Regions from separate parts of the Homo sapiens genome. Here region 1 is linked to region 2. The links are contacts of gene promoters, found by promoter capture Hi-C in blood cells and fetal thymus (Javierre and others, 2016). All regions are on one chromosome and are shown on one strand. Each heading gives the region's core, a stretch centred on a gene start or on the middle of the fragment in contact. The rest is flanking DNA. Distances are from core to core; before and after follow the strand shown.

Region 1 (6,002 bases), core at 3,488-5,987, 820 kb after region 2:
CTAAGGAACACAAAGGACATGGGACCCCTGTTGTATCTTTTCTTACTCATTTTACTTCCCTGTATTAGCCGAGCACTTTCACTGAAATGGTGGCATGGAAGGAAAGGGAAAGACAGGAAGACCCAGAGTTCTCCTTTTATCCCTCCTTCCTCATCAGTAAGCGGGAGGCAGAGAATGTTGGTGCCAGCATCAAGAAGTGAAATAGAAGCAGGCAAGTGAGTAGTGTGCATGGTTTTCATTGTTCTGGTAAGAACAGAAAACACACACAGATGAACTAGGAAATATGAGCTGTGTAATTTCAGTGATTCGGTGTATGAGTTGAAAGCTCTTCTATCTGCATTTAAAACTGGCATTCTACGATAGAAAGCTGAAGAGTAAAATTCATGCTAGCAATTTAAAATTTTAATTTTCTTTACTTAGAATGGCATTAAATAGCAAGAAAACACCATGGCTAATCAAGAGAGCCTGGGGAATGGAGGAAGAGGTTTGTATATTTAGCACCTTTAACTGCACTTTGCCAGGCTTTTGAACAAGGCGGCTTTATTTCATTTTGCACTGGGCCCCGCATGTTCTGTTACTGGGCCTTTTCCCACTGGAAAAATAGATGAGGTCTGTGAAGTGGGTGGAGGCTGCAGCCAGGGCAAGGGGGACGGGCAGGAGAGACACAGTTTAGTCCTGCTCTCCTGCCCGTCTTGGGATGGCCTGGACCACAGGAAGCCATCACGGGGACTGTTAGGGAGCTGCGAGGTCCTCCTGGGTGGGACGGCCCTGGAGACAACAGAGAGCTGTCCAGAGAGCCTCCTCTCAGATGCTACAGCATGATGCAGCACAAGGTAGGGAAGTGGCTCCTCTGTGGGCTCTGGGGAGGGAGGCAGCAAGGAGTGGTGATCAGTTTCAGGAAGGAGCCTGCACTCCAGGCCTTCCCTGTATGGGCCTGGCTTCTGTGCCTCCCCACTGCAGGCTGCCAGTAGAGCAGCTGCTGTCCCGACACCACTGGGCGCTCACAGGCCAGAGTCACTCGACGCCCAAGGAATATGGCCAGCTGGAGAGAAAAACATGCTCCCCGGGGATCCATGTCAGTCCATGTCTCTGTGGCATTAGAGGAGGGGCGAGTGGTGATTGGGAGTAAGCCCATGCAGGATAGAGGGGAGGGAGCAGGTGCAGGCAGAAGAGCTTCAGATCCTGAGGCAGGTCTGAGGCCTGCAAAAGAGACAGGGAAGGAAGGGGCTTGGGTAGGAAGAGTCTCAGACTGCAGTCCCCCTCCCAGAAGCTTTCGGCCAAGCTGATGGGTGTCCCTGATAAAGCTGCCCGTCGGAGGGGTCTTGAGTGGGACGGAGGGGCCAGCACTGGTATCTCAGACTCTGTCTTTGATGAGGAGCAGTCAGGGAACAGGCAGCAAAGCTTAGTCTTGATATAACAGTAATTGCTGTAAATGTAAGTGGGTTAAATTCCAATTAAAAGGCAGAGACAGATTACATTTAAAAATTTACACAATGGGTTGCCTAAAAGAGATACGCTTTAAAAAGATACAAAAAGCTTAAAATAAGAAAGTTGGCAAAAGACATAGCAAGCAAATATGAACCAAAGAAAACTGGATTGACATGTAATGTATGACATTCAAATTTAAGGCAAAAAATTTAAAAACTCCAAACGCCAGACAAAGAAGGGCACACATACATATGGGCGCAAGGAGCCACAGAATGATAATGCATGTCTATCACAATCATTCTAATATCTAAAAATATGGCCACAATACACAGCAAGCAACATGTGCCGGAACTGCTGGGAGAAGCAGATATTTTAACAATTCTAACTGGAAATTTTAAAAAATAATAAGCATAGTTCACATTGACAAAAATTAGCAGAAATCTCCAAATCCTGATCAAAATGATTAATAACCTTAAAAAGCTTTTCTATCTGGGATCTTACCTTACTGAGTCAAGAATTAATAATTTTGAACTAATACATAATATAGAGAACTCTCTGCCCATCAAGCAGAGAGTACAACCATTTTGAACACAGGTAGAACATGTATGAAATAGACTATGTGTTAGGACCTAAAGAAGCCTCAATGAATTCCAGAGGCACAGGGCCATGCAGACTGGGCAGCTAGTTTCTGTTTGTGCTTCTAAGTTCCCTTTGCCCATTCTTCAGGAGACCACCCGAAATGCACCATACTCCTTGGGTGCCCCTGACCTCCAGCTTCCCCTTGGGTTCAGCCAAAGCACTACCAGATCAGGGGAAGAGGGAGAGTGAGGTCCAGGGTTTGCTGCCCTGGCTCCCTTCCTAGGAAACTCTGGCTGGCTGCACCCCTCCACCTGAGCCTCTGCTTCTGCCCGCCCCGCTCCCTGCAGGCAGTAAGGCTGCAGTGCCACCAAGCCCCTGGGGCTCTCCGACCTCCTGCCCACACCTTTATCAATAGTCTCTTTATCAAACCCTTCTCAAATTACCCAATTTGAGTGTGCCATCTGCTTCCTGCCAGGATCTTGACTGAATACAGACTTGTTCTCTGACAACAATGCAATTAAATTAGAACCTGGTAACAAAAGGTTATAATTAAAGAAACACTATTGAAAAGTAAATAACATTATTAAATAACCCTGGGTTTAAAAGGAGATCATCAGGAACAGTAGAAAATATTAGATATGAATGATAATGAAAACATTTTATGTCCAAATTTGTGAGACTCAGCCAAGACAGTTCTGTAGAAGGAATTTTGTAGCTTTTAATACAGTAGATCTATTGGAAAATCAGAAGGCTTAAAAAGGAGCTAAGCATTTGGTTCAAGACAGAGGAACAGATCAAATCCAAAGAACCACAAAGGAAGGAAATAATACAGAAAGACAGAAGCAAATGAAATAACGGGAAAGACGTTTAACAGAACTAAAAGTTGGAGCTCTGAAAATATTTAAAAATATTAAAAGAGAAAAATGCAAAAAACAAAATACAGGCCAAATGCATGCCAGTAATCCCAGCACTTTGGGATGCCGAGGTGGGTGGATGGCTTGACCTCAGGAGTTTGAGACCAGCCTGTGCAACAGGGCAAAATCCTGTCTCTACAAAAAATGCTAAAATTAGCTGGGCGTGGTGGCACACACTTGTAGTTCCAGCTACTAGGGAGGCTGAGGTGGGAGGATTGCTTGAGCTGGGGAGGCTGAGGCTGCAGTGAGCCAAGATGGCACCACTGTACTCCAACCTGGGAGACAGAGCAAGACCCTGTCAAAACAAACAAACAAAACCATAAAAAGCCAGAATATAAAGAAAAAAAGATATGCTAGTCATTTAAATATTAACGTGAAATAGATTAATTCCTAGAAAAATGTCTATTGCCTCGAGAAATAGAGAACTTGCCAGATTAAAAAGCATGAGGAAAACGGAGGTGATAAAGACCCCAGCCCCAGAAGCCCAGATGGTTTTATTGTTTCTGCCAGGGTTAGGAAGAACAATTGATTTCTCTTTCATGCCGGCGGTTCCAGGAAATAGTGAAGGAGGAGGAGCTGTCTAGCTGGTTTCGGCGGGGCTGGGGCTGGGAGTGGGGGGCCCGTGTCTTGCAGAAGTGGATGTGAATCTCCCCCAGCCACCTGCAAGGCGCTCGCACGCAGCTGTCGGGACTGAGGTGAAGCCGGCTCTCCCAGGAGTGTGGATGAAATGGTTAACGGCGAGGCCGCTAGGGCAGCGCAGGCCCCTGCTGGGCGCCAGGGAGGCTTAGCCAGGCGACGCCAGGATGCCCATGGCAGGGGCTCGATGGCAGGGGCTGGGCTGGAGGGGACCCAGCCCCGGGGTTCAGGGTGGCCCGAAATCCGTGCACCCCCGCACCGCAGTGCGGGGAGGTTCCCATGGGCGAGCTGCCCAGAGGCTTTGTCGAAGTTGCCCAGCCCTGGGACGGTGGAGGGAGGACGGTGGCGCGCACAGAGATACCAGTCAGCCCCTGGAACTAGGAAGGCGGCTGGGGGCGGGTGACGCAGGCTGGGGTTTGCCGGGGTGGCCCCCGAGCGGCGTGTGACTTGGGGGTCCAAGGAAGTTAAACTGGACAGGCTGGGGTGAGGACAATGGGGGCCTGGAGAGGTGGGGCGAGAGGAGGGCGGGGGGTCCCCACGAGCCGCGGTAGAGGCGAGGCGGCGGGTCCGCGGGCGGGTTGCATCATCCGGCGGGGAGGGCCTGGGTCACTGCTGCTCTTCCCCCGGCGCCCCGGCCCCGACACAAGATGCGATTTCACCGCGCACCTGTTACACCCGGAGCCAGCATCCCTGGCGCAAGGAGCCCTCCCTCCCCAGCCCCGCCCGCCCCCCACGATGCGTCTGTCGCTGGCTCAGAGCGGGGGCAGGTGGACGTTTTACGATTTCACTCGAAAGGGGCCAGGGTGGGGGACGGCCCGGCGAGGGGTCCGCGGGCAAGTTCAGGTGCACGCGGGGCTTCGGGACGGGGCGCCGCCGGGTCCCTCCCCCGCGAGGTCTCAGGGGCACGCCGGGGGAGGGGACGCTGCGTCCGAGCCGGGTGTCGGTCCCCCACCCTCCGCGGGGCCCGCCGCGGTGTCAGCGGTGACGTCACAGCCCGGCCCCGGCCCCCTCCGTCCCCAGCCCCATCCCCGCGGCGGCCGCGTCGCCCGTCCCTCTCCCCGCGCGACAAACCAGCTGGCGACTGGAGCTCGGACGCCGCGCGCAGCCAACCAGCGCCTCGGGAGGGGCGCGGGGCGGTCCGGGCCGGGGGCGCGCAGCCCGTCACGCGGCGGCGCCGTCACAGCGCAGAGCAGCCGGCGAGCGGCAGCAGCTCCGGGCTCGAGAGCCCGCGCCCATGCCAGTGCCCATGCGGGGCCGCCGCCAGTGACGCCGGAGAGGTAAGGCCGCCGCCCGCCCGGCCTCCCGCGCCCGCGCCCCTCGCCCCGCACCTGCGCCCGGCAGCCCGCGCCCGCAGCCCGCACCTGCACCCACTGCGCCCAGGGCGGGGAGCTCCGGCCCGGCGCCCTTGTTGCCGCCCAAAGCGCAGGCACTGCGAGGCCCCTTCACTTCCAGACCTTCCTCCATCTCCGCAGAGAACAATGGGGGAAATTCAGGGGTGTCCGCCCTTCAGGTGCCGCTGGAAAAGGTCCCTTTGCCGCGATCTCGGCTGCAGCGGGACCCTCGGCTTAGGCGGGCGGGGGTCGCCCTCGGGAGGGCTCGCCCGGCCGGCGGGATCGGGATACCCCCGCCCTTCCCCGGCTATTCCGCTTCCCTGGAGAGGAGCCACCGGCGGGGCTGCGGGAGGGGCTGCGCCCAGACGGCGGGGGAGGGGAGGGATGGTGAGCGGGGCTGAGGACGCTGACGCCGCACCTGGGAGGGTGCGCGGCTGCAGCGCCTCGGCCCGAGGGGAGAGCGCGCAGGGCGGCCGGGCGCGGGCAGCTGCTCCGGTTCCCGGGGTGGGGGAGGGCGGATGCTGGAGCCGGGAGCAAAACAGGCGGGCGGGGCGGGGGCTGCGGCGTTGGGGCCTGGCCACCCGCTTCGTTGCACGGCCGGCCTGCCCATCACCCCCTCCCACGCCAGAGACCCCAGCTCCCTTCCAGAAAGACCCAGCACCTGGGAGGGGCCGCCGGCGAGCACTGCCTGCGTCTCAGCAGCCAGCGCCCCTGTAACAGGTGTGGCCCGGCGGCGAGGGAGGGGCTGCGGGGCCGCAGGGTCTAGGCTGGCGGCGCGCCCCCGGCGCCCGGGCTCGGATGACACGAAGGAACAGTGGCCGCGAAGACCTTCGCACTCCCGCTTTAAGCCGCTCCTCACGCTGACTTCCCCCAAACCAGCCGCGCTGCCCTCTCGCTGGGAAGGGCCGGGGCAGCATCCCCGCCGGGAGGGAGGGTCCGCAGGAGCGGGGCGCTGGGCGCCGGTAGGTGGGGTTGGGGGGGCCCTGCCGGCCGCAGGGGCGGGAGGGGGAGGGGAAGGAGGGAATGCCAAGTCATGGGGCCTGCTGGGCGCGAGCGCGACGTCGCCCGGCGCGGACCCGATGCGCGCCCACGTCCCCGGGAATAGGGACTTTCC
Region 2 (5,789 bases), core at 1-2,500:
AAAAAAACCAACACTCCCTATACACACACACACACACTCCTTCTCTTTCTCTCTCTCTTAGGACCCCAAGAAACTAAGACCCGATGATACAAATTCACTGTTTCTCTTTCTCGTCACGGAAAAGCAGCTTGGAGAATCTACTGGTTACTAAATTGAAGACAAAAACAAAAAAGATACGTATACTGTGATGAACACGTCACGTTTCTCTCCTCCAACCTACCAATAACTTCATAAAAGTTAAAGAGCTTCCATCCCTTCACGCTCAGCTGCGGAAAGGCTACGCTTTCGCCCGCCGCTCGCGTCCCCGGCCCGGACCGCGGCCGCCCCGTTCGCCGCCGCGCCTCTCCCCGCCCGGCAGGCTCCGCCGCCCTCCACGGCCGACCTGGCGCAAGGGCCTGTGCAGCCACAACCTCCGGAGCGCTCCGGACGGGACCGGAAAAGCAGAAGCTCCAGCGCAACCGACGGCGGGTTCCGCGGCGCAGTGCGCCGCCGTCCCCCTCCCGCTCCCACCGCCCACCACCCACCAACACCGCCCCGCGCTCCCGCAGCGCCCGCCGCCCCGGCCCAGCCTGGCCCGCACCGGCGTGCCCCGAGGCGAGTCGCGGCAGCCCGACCCGAGCAGGGGAGGCCAATGATAAGGCGAGCACCTCCTGCGGAAAGACCGACCCCCGGCAACTCCTCACCTGCGTCCATCTTCCCAGTCCGGCCGCCGACTGACCCGAGCGGCGTCGCTCCGACGGGCCAGCAACGCGACGCGGCGACGGGACGCCGCGGGGGCCAATAGGTGTGCCGGCGCAGGCGGCGAAGACGATACGGCGCGCGAGCGGAAATACGCGGGAGCCGCCATTTTGGCGTACGGCCGGGCCGACGCGAGCCCCGGGGCGCCCTGCGGGCGGCATGGGGTCGTGTCGTGGGACGACGGCTGGTTCTGCTGTCCGACGGGACACTGTGTGCCATGGGTGGCGCTTCCTCCTCTTAGAGGACCCAGGAGCAGTTGTCGAGGCGGCAGAGGCGAGCTCTGTCCCCGTCCGAGCAGCCATCTTGCGGTACGGACGTGCTCGGCGCGCCCATGTCGCGGTACGGACTTGCCCCGCCGGGGCGACTCCCCCGCCCGTCTGCCCGCCTGCCGACGGACGCTGCGAGGGGCCTGCGGCGCCCCGCTGGTCCGAAGACGCCCGAACCCGCGGCTGGCGAGGACGCGGGCGGGGGCTGGGGCGGGGGCGGGCCCGCTGCGGGCGCCTGCGCCTCCATCTTGCCGTACGGCGCGGACGCCGCGGGCCGGCCCACGTCCCGAGCCGTGTCGCCGCCGCGCTCCCTCCCTCGGGGCGGTCCGCGGGCGGGCGGGCGGCTAGGGCCGGGGCCTGGCTGCGCGGCTGGGCCAAGGCCCGCGATGGTGATCTGCTGTGCGGCCGTGAACTGCTCCAACCGGCAGGGAAAGGGCGAGAAGCGCGCCGTCTCCTTCCACAGGTACGCGGGCCCCGGGCCGCCACGCCCCCGCCCCGACCCGGCCCTGCGGGGAAACTGAGGCCCCGCGGCCGGCCCGAACGCGGGGGGCGGGGGCGCCGGGCCTCGGCGGCCGGGGCGCGGGGGAGCGGGCGTGGGCGCTGTGTGACCTTGGCCCGGCCGCCGTCTCTGGGCCGGGCGCCTCGGGCAGCGCAGCCGCCCCCACCCCGGCCGCCTGGGTCCGCCCTGCGCGCGATCGATCCGGCCGGCGCCTAGGCTTCAGAAGCCGCACGCTCTGGAAGCGCAGGTCCTGGGCCGATTGTCCTGCTCGGCCGCGACTGCTGACTCTCCGGACCGCGCGGGCCGTCGGCCTGGATGTCTGCGAGCAGGAGCGACCGGGCAGACGCGACCTGCGCCTCCGTAGCTGACAGCCCCCGAGAGGGCTTTCCGGGACTGGGCCCCCGAGCCCAGGACGCGGGTACGCGCGGAGAGTCTACGGGACGGCCGGCTGGGGACGGCATCCTCCTGCGCTCCCTTAGAGCCTGGCCCGGGGCTCTCGGCCGCTTCCCACGTGGGCCCCCGCGGCAGGGCCCAAACCCCTCTAAGGCCTTGTGAGTTCAGCCTATTTCAGTGAGATTTCTGCGGATTACACGCGGGAGGCACCAGAACCGCGAACAGACTTTAAAAACCACTTTGGAGATGTTTCTGTTTTATGTTGCATGGTGTTATTTAAGTTTTAAAGACGGGAATGGCACGTGTTATTTATAGGGTTATTGAAAGTTCACAGTAGTTTGCTGTAAGTCTTAAATCATTACAATGTATTATAAGAATTAGTAACATTAGATTATTTCACAAGTCAGCCAGCGCACTTTCTTGACAATTTCCTTCAGAGCTTGTGTCCTAGAAGTTTTGTTATTGTTTTTTGAAAACGAGGCAACGTGTTGCAACGGTCTAACATGGTATGGGAGGAAAGGACATCGGAATTGGGGGTGGGGGGGTACCTTTGCAGTTGGCCTCACAGTGTTCAGAAAGGAGGTTAGAAGGTCCTGTTGCTTAGAACGGCCCAGTCCATCCTGTTAGGATTTGTCCTGGTCCACACTGGCCTCAGGTGGAGCAAATAGCAGTTAGAACTGACCACCCTGTCCCTTATGTGCACATTAGGGCCTGGTTTTTTTTTCTTTTTTTCTCTTTTTTTTGAGAAGGAGTCTCCCTCTGTCGCCCAGGCTGGAGTGCATTGGTGCGATCTCGGCTCACTGCAACCCCCGCTCCTGGGTTCAAGCTATTCTCCTGCTTCAGCCTCCCAAGTAGCTGGGATTACAGGCAAGCGCCACCACGCCTGTCTAATTTTTTTGTATTTTTAGTAGAGACAGGGTTTCACCATATTGGCCAGGCTGGTCTCGAACTCTGGCCTCAAAGTCCTGACCTCAAGTGATCCACCCGCCTCGGCCTCCCAAAGTGCTGGGATTACAGGCATAAGCCACCCCGCCCGGCCCAGGCCTATGTTCTTAAACACAGAGTTTGCCTTAATGAAGAAATGGTTATGAAGGATCTTTATTAGGTAATAAAGAAATGACTAAACATCCTATTCAGTATCTTCCTGCGCTGGTTGCTTTTTTCTCACCATTTTTAAATTATGGTATAATACATGTAACATGAAATTTACCATCCTAACTTTTTTTGGAGACAGAGTCCCACTCTGTCACCCAGGCTGGAGTGCAATGGTATGACCGTAGCTCACTGCAGCCTCAGCCTCCTGGACCCAAGTGGTCCTCCCATCTCAGCCTCCAGAGTAGCTGGGATCACAGGCATGAGCCACGGCTCCCAGCCTTTCCTACCGCTTTTTCAGTGTACAATTCATGGCAACAAATACATTCACGTTGTTGTGCAGCTGTCACTACCATCCACCTCCAGAATTATTTTTATTTTGTAAAGCGGAATCTCTGGACTCATTAAACATTAATACCCCAGTCCTCCTCTCCCTAGGCTCTGGGAACCCGCATTCTCCTGTCTCTATGAATTTGATTACTCTGAGTACCTCATGTGAGTGGTATCATGCAGTGTTTGTTTTTTTGCACCTGCCCTATTTCATTCAGTATAATGTCCTCAAGGATCATCTGAGTTGGTTGATTTTTTTTGAGGGGAGAAGACCGGGTTTCACTCTGTTCCCCAGGATGGGGAGCAGTGGTGCAGTCTTAGCTCACTGTAACTTCGAATTTCTGGGCTCAAAGAACCCTCAAGCCTCAGGCTCCCAAGTAACTGGAACTGCAGGTGAGCACCATTGTGCCCTGTCCCTGGGCTGGTTGACTTTTAAAAGGAGCATTTTTACTCCTGGAGGTGGGCATGCAACAGGAACACAGAACTGTAGCTCTGGAGTCTTCTGGAGGTCTCCAGATTCTCAGCTGCTTGCGCACAGCCAGGGCTGCCTCCATGCAGTCCTGACCTCTCACGCCCTAGTGTCTGTGGATGCTGGCCCTGGTTTTGGTACCCAGAGTCCTACCTTCCAGGCAAGTTGGGAGGGTTGGTTAGCAGTCAGCTTCTAGGAGCTATTTCCTGCTGTCCTGAGGCCATCCTGGCACTGTCTGTCAGCATCCTGTGTCCCCATTGGGCATTTACCACAGCCTGGGGAGCAGTTGGTTACCTTCTTTCCCATCCGCCCTACAGACTATAAGCTCTGTATGGGTAGACAACGGGTCTTTCAGATTTCTACTCCAGTAATAACTGCAGGTAGAAGATGTTCTTTAAATCTTTTTGAAGTATTTTTTTAAGTGGATGAAGTCAATACGGCTTAGGGTGCGTGCAAAAATACTTGTTTTGCTTTTACAGTTGATTATTTTAAGGGGAGACATTTAATTATTTCTAATTACTTTTTGTCATTTGTCCTGTAGGTTCCCCCTAAAGGACTCAAAACGTCTAATCCAATGGTTAAAAGCTGTTCAGAGGGATAACTGGACTCCCACTAAGTATTCATTTCTCTGTAGTGAGCATTTCACCAAAGACAGCTTCTCCAAGAGGCTGGAGGACCAGCATCGCCTGCTGAAGCCCACGGCCGTGCCATCCATCTTCCACCTGACCGAGAAGAAGAGGGGGGCTGGAGGCCATGGCCGCACCCGGAGAAAAGATGCCAGCAAGGCCACAGGGGGTGTGAGGGGACACTCGAGTGCCGCCACCAGCAGAGGAGCTGCAGGTTGGTCACCGTCCTCGAGTGGAAACCCGATGGCCAAGCCAGAGTCCCGCAGGTTGAAGCAAGCTGCTCTGCAAGGTGAAGCCACACCCAGGGCGGCCCAGGAGGCCGCCAGCCAGGAGCAGGCCCAGCAAGCTCTGGAACGGACTCCAGGAGATGGACTGGCCACCATGGTGGCAGGCAGTCAGGGAAAAGCAGAAGCGTCTGCCACAGATGCTGGCGATGAGAGCGCCACTTCCTCCATCGAAGGGGGCGTGACAGATAAGAGTGGCATTTCTATGGATGACTTTACGCCCCCAGGATCTGGGGCGTGCAAATTTATCGGCTCACTTCATTCGTACAGTTTCTCCTCTAAGCACACCCGAGAAAGGCCATCTGTCCCCCGAGAGCCCATTGACCGCAAGAGGCTGAAGAAAGATGTGGAACCAAGCTGCAGTGGGAGCAGCCTGGGACCCGACAAGGGCCTGGCCCAGAGCCCTCCCAGCTCATCACTTACCGCGACACCGCAGAAGCCTTCCCAGAGCCCCTCTGCCCCTCCTGCCGACGTCACCCCAAAGCCAGCCACGGAAGCCGTGCAGAGCGAGCACAGCGACGCCAGCCCCATGTCCATCAACGAGGTCATCCTGTCGGCGTCAGGGGCCTGCAAGCTCATCGACTCACTGCACTCCTACTGCTTCTCCTCCCGGCAGAACAAGAGCCAGGTGTGCTGCCTGCGGGAGCAGGTGGAGAAGAAGAACGGCGAGCTGAAGAGCCTGCGGCAGAGGGTCAGCCGCTCCGACAGCCAGGTGCGGAAGCTACAGGAGAAGCTGGATGAGCTGAGGAGAGTGAGCGTCCCCTATCCAAGTAGCCTGCTGTCGCCCAGCCGCGGTCAGTACCGGAGCCTCGCGTACCCATGTTCCCTTCCCGTTAGGAGGGGTTTCTCTGCAAGGTGGCCAGCGTCCCCTGAGCATTTCTGGGAGGTGTCACAAGCTCCCTGCGCTCTCAGGAGGAAGCTCTGGTCGTAACCATACCTTGTGGATGAGGGAATCCAGGTTAGAAAGCAGGCCTCACTGCACCTGGTCCCACAAGAGGCATCTGTGTGTGTAGGGATGTAGGCCGTGAAGGAGGCAGGCAGCACGCGTCAGCCAGGAGTGCCTGAACGCCTCCGTGGAGAGTGCACAGGGAA

The links. Contacts are between HindIII fragments. The CHiCAGO score rates a contact against its expected background, and 5 or more counts as called.
Region 1: a contact is called between the fragment with the promoter of KIF1A here and the fragment with the promoter of THAP4 in region 2, in 1 of 17 cell types (M2 macrophages). The highest score is 7.7, in M2 macrophages.

The regions. Positions count from the first base shown.
Region 1 is chr2:240,818,954-240,824,955 of GRCh38, reverse strand. KIF1A (kinesin family member 1A) reads left to right here and starts at 4,737. Exons shown (of 49, transcript NM_001244008.2): 1 at 4,737-4,834. RefSeq lists an enhancer at 3,751-4,325. The HindIII fragment of the contact is 8,764 bases long and covers 1,911-6,002 here.
Region 2 is chr2:241,632,619-241,638,407 of GRCh38, reverse strand. THAP4 (THAP domain containing 4) reads left to right here and starts at 1,250. Exons shown (of 6, transcript NM_015963.6): 1 at 1,250-1,467; 2 at 4,329-5,491. The coding sequence starts at 1,391. ATG4B (autophagy related 4B cysteine peptidase) reads right to left here and starts at 715. Exons shown (of 13, transcript NM_013325.5): 1 at 684-715. The coding sequence starts at 693. RefSeq lists silencers at 258-397, 438-627, 648-697, 1,068-1,417, 1,448-1,517 and 1 more and an enhancer at 167-1,094. The HindIII fragment of the contact is 17,924 bases long and covers 1-5,789 here.